2 separate regions of the Homo sapiens genome follow, and region 1 is linked to region 2. The links are contacts of gene promoters, found by promoter capture Hi-C in blood cells and fetal thymus (Javierre and others, 2016). All regions are on one chromosome and are shown on one strand. Each heading gives the region's core, a stretch centred on a gene start or on the middle of the fragment in contact. The rest is flanking DNA. Distances are from core to core; before and after follow the strand shown.

The links. Contacts are between HindIII fragments. The CHiCAGO score rates a contact against its expected background, and 5 or more counts as called.
Region 1: the fragment with the promoter of KLC3 here is called in contact with the fragment with the promoter of NKPD1 in region 2 in 2 of 17 cell types (megakaryocytes and erythroblasts); the score reaches 6.9 in megakaryocytes.

Annotation. Positions count from the first base shown.
Region 1 is chr19:45,338,213-45,342,686 of GRCh38, forward strand. KLC3 (kinesin light chain 3) reads left to right here and starts at 2,538. Exons shown (of 13, transcript NM_177417.3): 1 at 2,538-2,634. RefSeq lists a silencer at 2,434-2,523. The HindIII fragment of the contact is 17,587 bases long and covers 1-4,474 here.
Region 2 is chr19:45,158,600-45,163,307 of GRCh38, forward strand. NKPD1 (NTPase KAP family P-loop domain containing 1) reads right to left here and starts at 2,383. Exons shown (of 5, transcript NM_198478.4): 1 at 2,326-2,383; 2 at 1,461-1,622; 3 at 64-501. The coding sequence starts at 1,551. TRAPPC6A (trafficking protein particle complex subunit 6A) reads right to left here. Exons shown (of 6, transcript NM_001270891.2): 6 at 4,334-4,624. The coding sequence ends at 4,593. RefSeq lists an enhancer at 2,033-2,665. The HindIII fragment of the contact is 37,147 bases long and covers 1-4,708 here.

The DNA.
Region 1 (4,474 bases), core at 1,288-3,787, 180 kb after region 2:
CTGAGGTCAAGAGTTCAAGACCAGCCTGGCCAACATGGGAAACTCCATTTCTACAAAAATATAAAAATTAGCAAGGCATGATGGTGGGTGCCTGTAATCCCAGCTGCTTGGGAGGCTGGGGCGGGAGAATCGCTTGAACCTGGGAAGCGGAGGTTACACAATGAGCCAAGATCGTGCCACTGCACTCCAGCCTGGGCAACAGAGCAAGACTGTCTTAAAAAAAAAAAAATGCTGGAGTAGTTAGGATATGAGTTTGAATTTTTATTTCCATGATTCAATCAGCACCTATTCTCCCAAATGCCTTCTCTGCGTTGGGCCTGTGCTAGGTGGCACTGGGGACACAGTGGAGACTGACATGGCCCCTGGCCGCCTCCTCCCTTCTTGGGGCTCATAGTCTAATATGGGACTGACCTGTCTCCCCACACTGATGACCCAGAGTTGGCAGGGCTGGATGTGGGAGCCCAAGAGCCTGGAAACCTGGGAAATAAGAAAGGGCTTCCTGGAGGAGGAAGCATCAGCACTGGGGCTCAGACAACAGGGAAGTAGAGGGCACGTTGGCTGCAATTCGGAGGGAGCGCGGAGCTGTGCCGAGTCTGGAGTTTGGTCCACGGACCAGCAGCGCCCTCTGCTGGAAGCATTTCATAGTGTAGTGACCGGGGTACCGCGCGCATTGAGCCATGTATGTATGTATGCATTTATTTATTTTTGAGATGGAGTTTCGCTCTTGTTGCCCAGGCAGGAGTGTAATGGTGTGATCTCGGCTCACTGCAACCTCTGCCTCTGGGGTTCAAGCGATTCGCCTGCCTCAGCCTCCCAAGTAGCTGGGATTACAGGCGTGCGCTACCACACCCGGCTAATTTTGTATTTTTAGTAGAGATAGGGTTTCACCATGTTGGCCAGGCTGGTCTCGAACTCCTGACCTCAAGTGATCCAGCCCCCTCGGCCTCCCAAAGTGCTGGGATTACAGGTGTGAGCCACTGCGCCGTCCTCAAGTTATATTAGAATCGTGTCCTCCCAGCTTTGGCCAGCTTACTATTCTAGGACTTGATTCCTTCATTCAGTCACAATTTATTGAGCACCGACTTTGCATCAAGCTCTTGCTGAAGATAACAGTGCTGACAATATACAGCCCTGCCCTCAGAGCTTATATAGTAGAGGAGAAAAAGTGAACCCATAATATACAGTCAGTAGCGAGTATTTACTAAGTACTTTCTATTTGCGAGGCCCTGATAAAAGTACTGTCCTGGCCAGGCGCGGTGGCTCACGCCTGTAATTCCAGCACTTTGGGAGGTCGAGGTGGGCAGATCACCTAAGGTCAGGAGTTCGAGATCAGCCTGGCTAACATGGGGAAACCCCGTCTCTACTAAAAATGGAAAAATTAGCTGGGCATGGTGGCGGGCGCCTGTAATCCCAGCTACTCGGGAGGCTGAGACAGGAGAATGACTTGAACCCAGGAGTTGCAGTGAGCCAAGATAAGATAGCGCCATTGTACTCCAGCCTGGGTAACACAGCGAGACTGTGTCTCAAAAAAAAAAAAAAAAAAAAAAAAGTACTGTCCCTGTATTAGTTAACATTCAATTCTCAAAGCCTTAGACTATTTATATTTTATTGACTAGGGAAACTGAGGCACAGAGAGGTTAAGTTACTTGCCCAAGGCCTGCACAGCAAGTAAGTGCCGGAATCAAATTTGAACCCTGAGCCCAATTCTTAGATATCACATTCCCTTGCCAATAACATAATATATAACATAACATAATGATGTGATATATGTTATATAAAATAACTTTAGGGGCCGGGGGCGGTGGCTCACTCCTGTAATCCCAGAACTTTGGGAGGCCGAGGCGGGAGGATCACTTGAGGTCAGGAGTTTGAGACCAGCCTGGCCGACATGGCGAAACCCCGTCTCTACTAGAAATATAAAAAGTAGCCGGGCGTGGTGGCAGACACTTGTAGTCGCAGCTACTCGGGAGACTGAGATGGGAGAATCGCTTGAACTTGGGAGGTGGAGGTTGCAGTGAGCCGAGATCGCGCTACTGCACTCCAGCCTGGGTGACGGAGCGAGACTCCCTCTCAATAAATAAATAAGGTAATTTTAGGCCCTGAAAAGTTTTGTGAACAAAATCAAGAGGAGTATGTAATGTTTTGGTGGAAGGGTGCCATTTAGAAGGGGGCAATCAGGGAAGGCCTGCCGGAGGAGGTGGCCTTTGAGAAGAGACCTAAAGACGATGAGATCTGTGGGAAGAGAGATCGAAGCAGGCCACACAACCAAGGAAAAGGCTCTGGGGCAGGCACTGCAAGAAAGCCACCTGTCTGGGATCTAAAGTTTCCAAAGTTTTAGCTTGGCCAAGGCCCCTGCGCTACAATCACCCTGATTCGAGGTGTCCTGGAGGTTACCAGTTCCGCGTGCGAAGTTCTGCCATTCCCGCGGGGCTGGAGCCCCGAGGCTGAACTTCCCACGGGCGGTGGGCGTGGCCGGCTCACCTGCGGGGGCGTGGCTCCCGGCTGCCCCGCCCCTCGGAGGAGCCGCCCGAGGTCCCAGACGCCCGGCGCAGCGGGAGCGGCGGGGCGTGCCTGGCCTGCGGGACGCGACTGATCGCAGTGGGGCGAAGCGGGGCCGGAGCCGCCCGCGGTCAGGTGGGTGCCGGGAGTGGGGCGCGGGACTCTCGGAGAGCCGCGATGATGGGGGGCGGGGGCAACCCTGGGCCCGCTCGCCCTGAGACGGGGAAGGGCCTTGGGGCTCCCGGATGCCCCCTGCCCCGTCCTGGGGCTCTCCGGGATCTGGAGGCCTGGCTGGGGTCCCATGCCCCCCACCCCAGCGCAGGTAAACAGCGAGGACGGGGCGGGGCCTGGGAGGGAGAGGGAGGGGGCCCTTGTGACTGCGGGTGAGCCTGGTGCGCGGGGCTGGGCAGGCCAGGGTAAGTTGGTGCGGCTTGCGGGGCTGGGCCACGATGGGAGTCTCCTGCCTGCCTGTGTTTGTGTGTGTGTGTGTGTGTGTGTGTGTGGCTTTGCGTGTGTGTAAGAGAGTGTGTCAGGCTGTGGGTATGAGGGTGAAAGCGACTGTCCGTGTAACCCTGTGATGGGACTGTGTGTATGATGTGACACTTTTAGCAATGTGAAAACGTGGGCGACCTCTGACTGGAATGGTGTGTGTGTAGAATTGGATTGCTGGTAGCACTTTACGACCAAGAGCTAGTGCGACTGTAGTCGACTTTCTGCTTGGCCTGATGTGCATGTGTGTGGCTGTGTGTGTGGCTGTCTTCATGGCAGAGAGTGGAACTGGTTGTAGGATTAGGTGTGATTGACCAAGAGGCTGTGCGGCTGTGGTTGTCTTTCTGCCTGTTGGTGTGTGTGTGTGTGTGTGTGTGTGCGCGCGCGCGTGTGGTGGACAGTGTGGCACTGGATCAGTGATAGGTGACTATGATTGACTTTTGATTGTGTGTCACTGTGATGGTGCATGGGGCTGGGCGGAACTGTGTCCAGAAGTGGAGCTGTTTCATGGGACGGTGCGCGTGGAACCTTGGGGTTGGATGAGTGAGGTGTGGAGGTGTGTGAAGCCGTGTGTGCGTGTGTGTGTGTGTGTGTGTGTGTGTAGAGAGGAACTAGAGGGTGTGTGATCTGCATTGATACCGTGGCTGGCAGTGGTGTGCAACGGAGAGTTTGTGGGAGATGGGAGTGGAGACGTGGACATTTAAGTGGGATGCTCCTCCAAGCGGGTGACAGGATGGAAAAGGGGGTCCGCGTCAGGGATCAGTGTGTGGGACTGTGCCTATGATTATCAGCTGTGCGGTTGTGCACCCGGGGCTCTGTGTGAGTGTGGGAGCTGCTGTGTGTCTGGGACACAGCCCGAGTGCTGGATGGCTGTGGTTGAGCCGTGTTTGTTGCTGTGGTTGTCAATCTGGCTGTGGAGTGGTGTGTGTAAGGCTGTGTCTGAGGTTATAGAGGGAGGTTTTACATCGGCAAAATTGTGTGAAGAATGGTTGTGGTTGTCAGGATGACTCTTGAACCTGTGTGGTTGTGAGTTCAACCATTTATGATGTTTGTGTGTGAGGTGTGAGAATAGGTATGGTGTGATATACACAAGCACACAGATTGGCCGGGTGCAGTGGCTCATACCTGTAATCTCAACACTTTGGGAGGCTGAGGCGGCGGGGATTGCTTGAACCCAGGAATCCTAGACTAGCCTGGGCAATATGGTGATACCCCGTCTCTACAAAAACAAAAATTAGCTGGGCATAGTTTAGTTTTTTAAAAATTAAAAAAAGGTTGGCTGGGCGCGGTAGCTCACGCCTGTAATCCCAGCACTTTGGGAGGCCAAGGGGGGAGCGGGTGGATCATTTGAGGTCAGGAGTTTGAGACCAGCCCGGCCAACATGGTGAAACCCCGTCTGTACTAAAAATACAAAAATTAGCCAGGTGTGGTGGCGGGCACCTGTAATTCCAGCTACTTGGGAGGGTGAGGGAGGAGAATCGCTTGA
Region 2 (4,708 bases), core at 1,133-3,632:
AGCAGGTGGGAAGTGAGGCGGCAGGAGTGGGGACAGGGCCCCCAAGAAGGCCAGGGTGAGCACCGGAGCTGTAGGCAGTGAAGGAGCCACAGGCCGCTGGGGCGGGCAGGGGCCGGGCATCAGTGGGCTCGCTGGGCTTCAGGAGGACGCCAGCCGCGGAGGGTAGAGCTGGGCCACTCCTGGCCATGGCTGGTGCCGTGGTGGGTAAGGTGGGCGCCTGAGGGGCGCTGGCAGGTTCCTTGGGGACAGTGGAGGTTGCAGGCAGCCCCTTCTGGGCTTCGTGAATGGGGCAGAGCCGCTGCCGCAGGGGGCTGGGAGGTGAGGGCTGGGACTGGGGCTGCCGCTGCTGCTGCAGGACGGAGGGCAGGAGGCCCCGGCGCCAGCCACTGCCACCCACTTGGTGGCTGTGGTAGGCCAGCTGCCAGTGTGATTGGGGGGAAGGCCGACAGGGCCCATGGGCTCGGAGGGCCGCTGAGTCCTGGCGCCACTGATGACAGCATCCTGGAAGGAAGGAAGTGGGGGTGACTGGGCCTGTGTCCCCGACCCCCGGGGGCACCGGCACAAGCCAGACCAAGTCTTCAGGTAGAACCTGGGGGCCAGAGTATTCTTGGGAGCCCCAGAAACCCCTCAAAAAGTAAGATTATGTGCGGGGGAGGTATGGGCAGGGGAGGGACCCAGGGTCTGTGCTGTCCCATGGCGGGGGAGCAGGGAAGGTGCAGGCTTGGACTTCAGCTGGGGGCAGAGAGAGGACGCCTGAGGTTGGGGCTTCAATGGAGGCTGGTGCCTGCCACAGCAGATTCCTGGATCCCTGGGGGGTGCCGCCAGTGCAGGGGTCAGGGAAACTGAGAAGATCCATTGGGAGCTGGCCCTGGCTGGCCCAGGGAGGCCGGAGTGATGGGTGGTGGCGTGGAGAGGGGTAGGCCAGGGATTTGGGTGGGGGGTGGACCTTGTCCCCAGCTCGGGCCAGGGTGGCAGGAAGGGTGGTGACCTGGGAAGCTCCAGCCCTCGCCCTAGCCCTGAGGAGGCTGAATCAGCCCCAGTGGGAGGGCACTGCCCCCTCCCCACCCTGAACAAGATCACCTGTGGTCACCACCAGAAACTGGGCCCAGCCTCATCCAGACATGTTCAGTGGGGGGGCTCCCTCTCCTACCCCTCACTCCCAGCACACTGCTCCCCTCCAGGCTGGAGGCCATCCACACAGGCCTCAGGGTTTGGAAACGGGGCAGGGCAGGCCAGGCGGCCCCTGCTTCCAACTCCAGCCCAGGCTCCTATCTTTGGGCCCGCAGGCCCTGTGGTCCGGGTCCTGGGTCCCAGGCCCTGCTGCTACACAGATGCCTCTGGGTGGAGTGCAAGTGGCTTTTCTCTCCTGGGGATGACAGCTCCCCTTCTGTTCCTCCATTCACTCTGGCTTCCTCACAGGCCTCTGTCGGCCATCACCCGCCCCCAAACTGAACCCGTACCTTTTCGGTGCCCCAACTCTGGGTCCCAGAAGTAGTGCCCGTTGGGGCTCTGGGCATCCTTGGCGAAGTGGACTTTGTAATGTTTGTGCATGGCAGCCGGGCAGCTGGGTGCTGGGGGCCTGCTCCTGAGGCAGGAGGGAGCACACAGGCTTGGCGTAGCCTCTGGGGCACGAACAGCAGAGAGCTGAGGTCAGGGTCCCTGCCCTGCCCGACAGCTTGGACAGGGGAAAGGCCAAGTCCCAGATGCTGGGTTCCTAGGTCACTTGGGAGAAGGGGGTAGAGGTGGCCTTCAGGGTACAGTGAGGGGCAGGATAAGGAGGGATGGCCAGAGGAGGGAACGGAGAACCGCTGGGGTTGGCTAGGGGTTAATTTGAGGCTGGGTGTTGGGAAGCTCCTGGGAGTTTCCAAGAGGCTAGGACACTGGGGAGTGCTGAGCAGACATGGGCTGGGGAAATAGGGGGTCCGGTGTGGTGGCTGAGTGACCAAGGGGTCATTAAGGTGTGGGCGCTGTGGGAGGCTGGCACGCTTTGGAAGGACATGGAGCTAGTGAGGTGAGCTGGAGAGCAGATGAGAAGCAGGGTGAGTGAAAATCAGAGCTGGGTACCTGTGGGCATTGAATGATACGGTGGAGGGGGAATTGTGAGGGAGCAATGAAATCGCGGTGGTCCAATTTGGGGAGAGGCTCAGCAAACTCGGGCAAGATGGGTGTACCGCGTTTCCAATGTGAAGAGCCGAAAGCAGGACAGGGAAGGATGCTGTGTGGGGGACAGGGATAGGGAAAGGCTGAGGGGCAGAGGAAACTGGGGTGCTGAGAGTTGGTAGCCTGCCCACCACTCCCCACCCCCAGTCCCAGTCCCACTCGTACCTGACGGTGGCCTCACGGCCCCAGCTGCCTGCCCCACGAGCAGCTGCCACACCAGCCCGGACTGTCAGCGCAGGCCCATCCAGATGGAGGCCTCAGCCCAGTGCCCGCCTGACCGGTTTGCCTGCCTGTCCCCGCCCCTTCCCCAGCGCCTGCCTGTCCCAGTGCTCTCTGCTCTCGAGGACTGGGACTCCGACTGGACTCAGTCTTGTGTCCCCATCCCTGGTAAGGAACGGAGATGCATCCCGCAGCACTGCCTCAATCTCCTTAAGGCAGCCACAGGCCCAGGCACTTCTGCTGGTGTGGGGGGGACAGGGAGCTGGGATGCCAGCTCCTCCGTGGCCCAGGTATGTGACCTTGGGCAGGTGACTTCACTCTCCGAGCCATGGCTTCCTCATTGCTGAGTGGGCACCTGCCTCTCGTGGCTGTCGCGAGGGAGGCACTGGGTGGGAGTCCCCTCAGCTCAGGGCCTGGCGCACCTGACCCGGGGCTGTGCTGACCCATTTACCTGGCGCTGTTCTAAATGGATGTCCATAGGACAAGGGCAACAGCACACACATCAAGGCTTGCTACACCATAGCCCCGTCTTCCTCTCCACCACCCAGGGGGCCAGGTGTGATGCCCGCTTCACAGATGAGGACACTGAGGCCCAGAGAAGTGAAGTCCTCGGCCCCAGGGCACACAGAGGCAGGGCGGGGATTTGGAAGCAGTCAGTGGTTGCTACTCCCAGGCTCGCCAAGGCTCTGTCTCCTGCCCTCGGGGCCAGCACTCAGTGACTGCCTCCCCACAGATGCCCTCTGAGGGGTGAGGGCCGGGGTAAGGCTGGGCAGGAGATGCCCTGAAGGCCCCTCGGCTCTCTGGGGCCCCGGCTCCCTGTGGCTGCTGGCGTAACGGGGTCAACAGTTGCTTCCCTGACAGACGGGGTGCTCCGATGGGGATGGGGGAGGCAGCCCCAGAACAGTGCCCAGGACAAGATAAAGGGAACCCACCCAGCCCTGAGTTCTGCCCAGGTGACCAAACACTGCTCCCTACGGCCAGAGCCAGGGCCCTTCCTGCGACCTGGGACCCCGTCTCCTCCCCCACCCTTCAAGCCGGTTGCTCTGGGAAGGTTCCTCCCTGGCCCACCAGGGAGGCGGGGCTGGCATCTGAGCGTGGGCATCTGCAGTGGGCCTCCGTGCCAACCCCCCACACCCCCGGCCCGATCATGAAGCGTGGCCCAATGTAAATGAGCCGTCTCCGCAGGACGAGATTGCCCCGGGCTGGGAGCACAGTGGCCAGGAGGCTGCTGGACACTAGGGGGAGCAGGCGTTTGGGGAGTGGGCCAGGCGGGCAGCACTGCAGAGGCAGACACAGGACACAGCTACACTCAGCCAGGTGGAATAGGAAGGGGTGACCCAGGCAGGGCCTGACGGGGTGACTGGACCCCACTCTACAGGGGAGGTTCTTTAGCAAGGGGCCCCTTTCTCATCCCATTTGGGGTTCACCCCCAGCCTTGGTGGGCAGCTCTGAGCCTGGGGCACTTACCCATGTCAGGCAGCGGGCGGCGAAGCCCAGGAGTCCCCAGATGCTACAGATGCGAGCGGGGTGGGAGGGGGCAGCATAAGGGCCACTCTGCCCAGGGACGGGCAGCAGGAGTGCGTAGGGGCCGCGTGTGTCCATGGGGGTGTCTGGCCTCCCCCTACCCCATGCATCCCCAGCCCTGGCAGCCCCAGCCCGACCTGGCCTACACTCCGGGCACTCCCAGCCCTGCTCCCCAGGAAGACGCTCCGTTCTGTGCACATCGCCGGGCAGAGGGCAGCCCCAGACTTGTTGACTTGGCAGAGGTGCCAGTAAGGCCGCCCATGCCGGAGGCCAGCATCCCTCTGCCAGGAGCACGGGGAGGGAGGGAGTGGAGGGGGACGTGGCAGGGGAGGGAAGGTCTGAGGGGCATGGGAGCCAGAGAGGGTACCCACTCCCCTGCAGGACCTGTGACAGTCGGTCCACAGATCCTCCCCCACTGCTCTGAGTCAGATTCCACACACACAGCCTTTATTGAGCAGCTACTGGGCAGTGACGCTGCCGAGGCGGGAATCCCACCACAGTCCTGACCGCAGCTGGGACCCCTTTGCCTCCTCTGACACCCCCACCTCAATTTGATACCCACTTCCTGAGCAAATGTGACCCCTAGGGCCTGGGATTCCCAAGACCACCCCGAAATGCAGCGGCCCCACCGTCTCCTGAGGCCGGTGAGGCCAGGGGCAGCAGTGCGGCTCAGCAGGTGCGAGGCAGGCTTAGGATTTCGGAATCACCACCTGGAACTTACCTGGAAGAGAAGGCCTGGCTTAGGCTTGAGGATGGGATGGGGGAGGCAGAGGGCACCTGGACGGCTCTTAGGCGCTCACCCCCG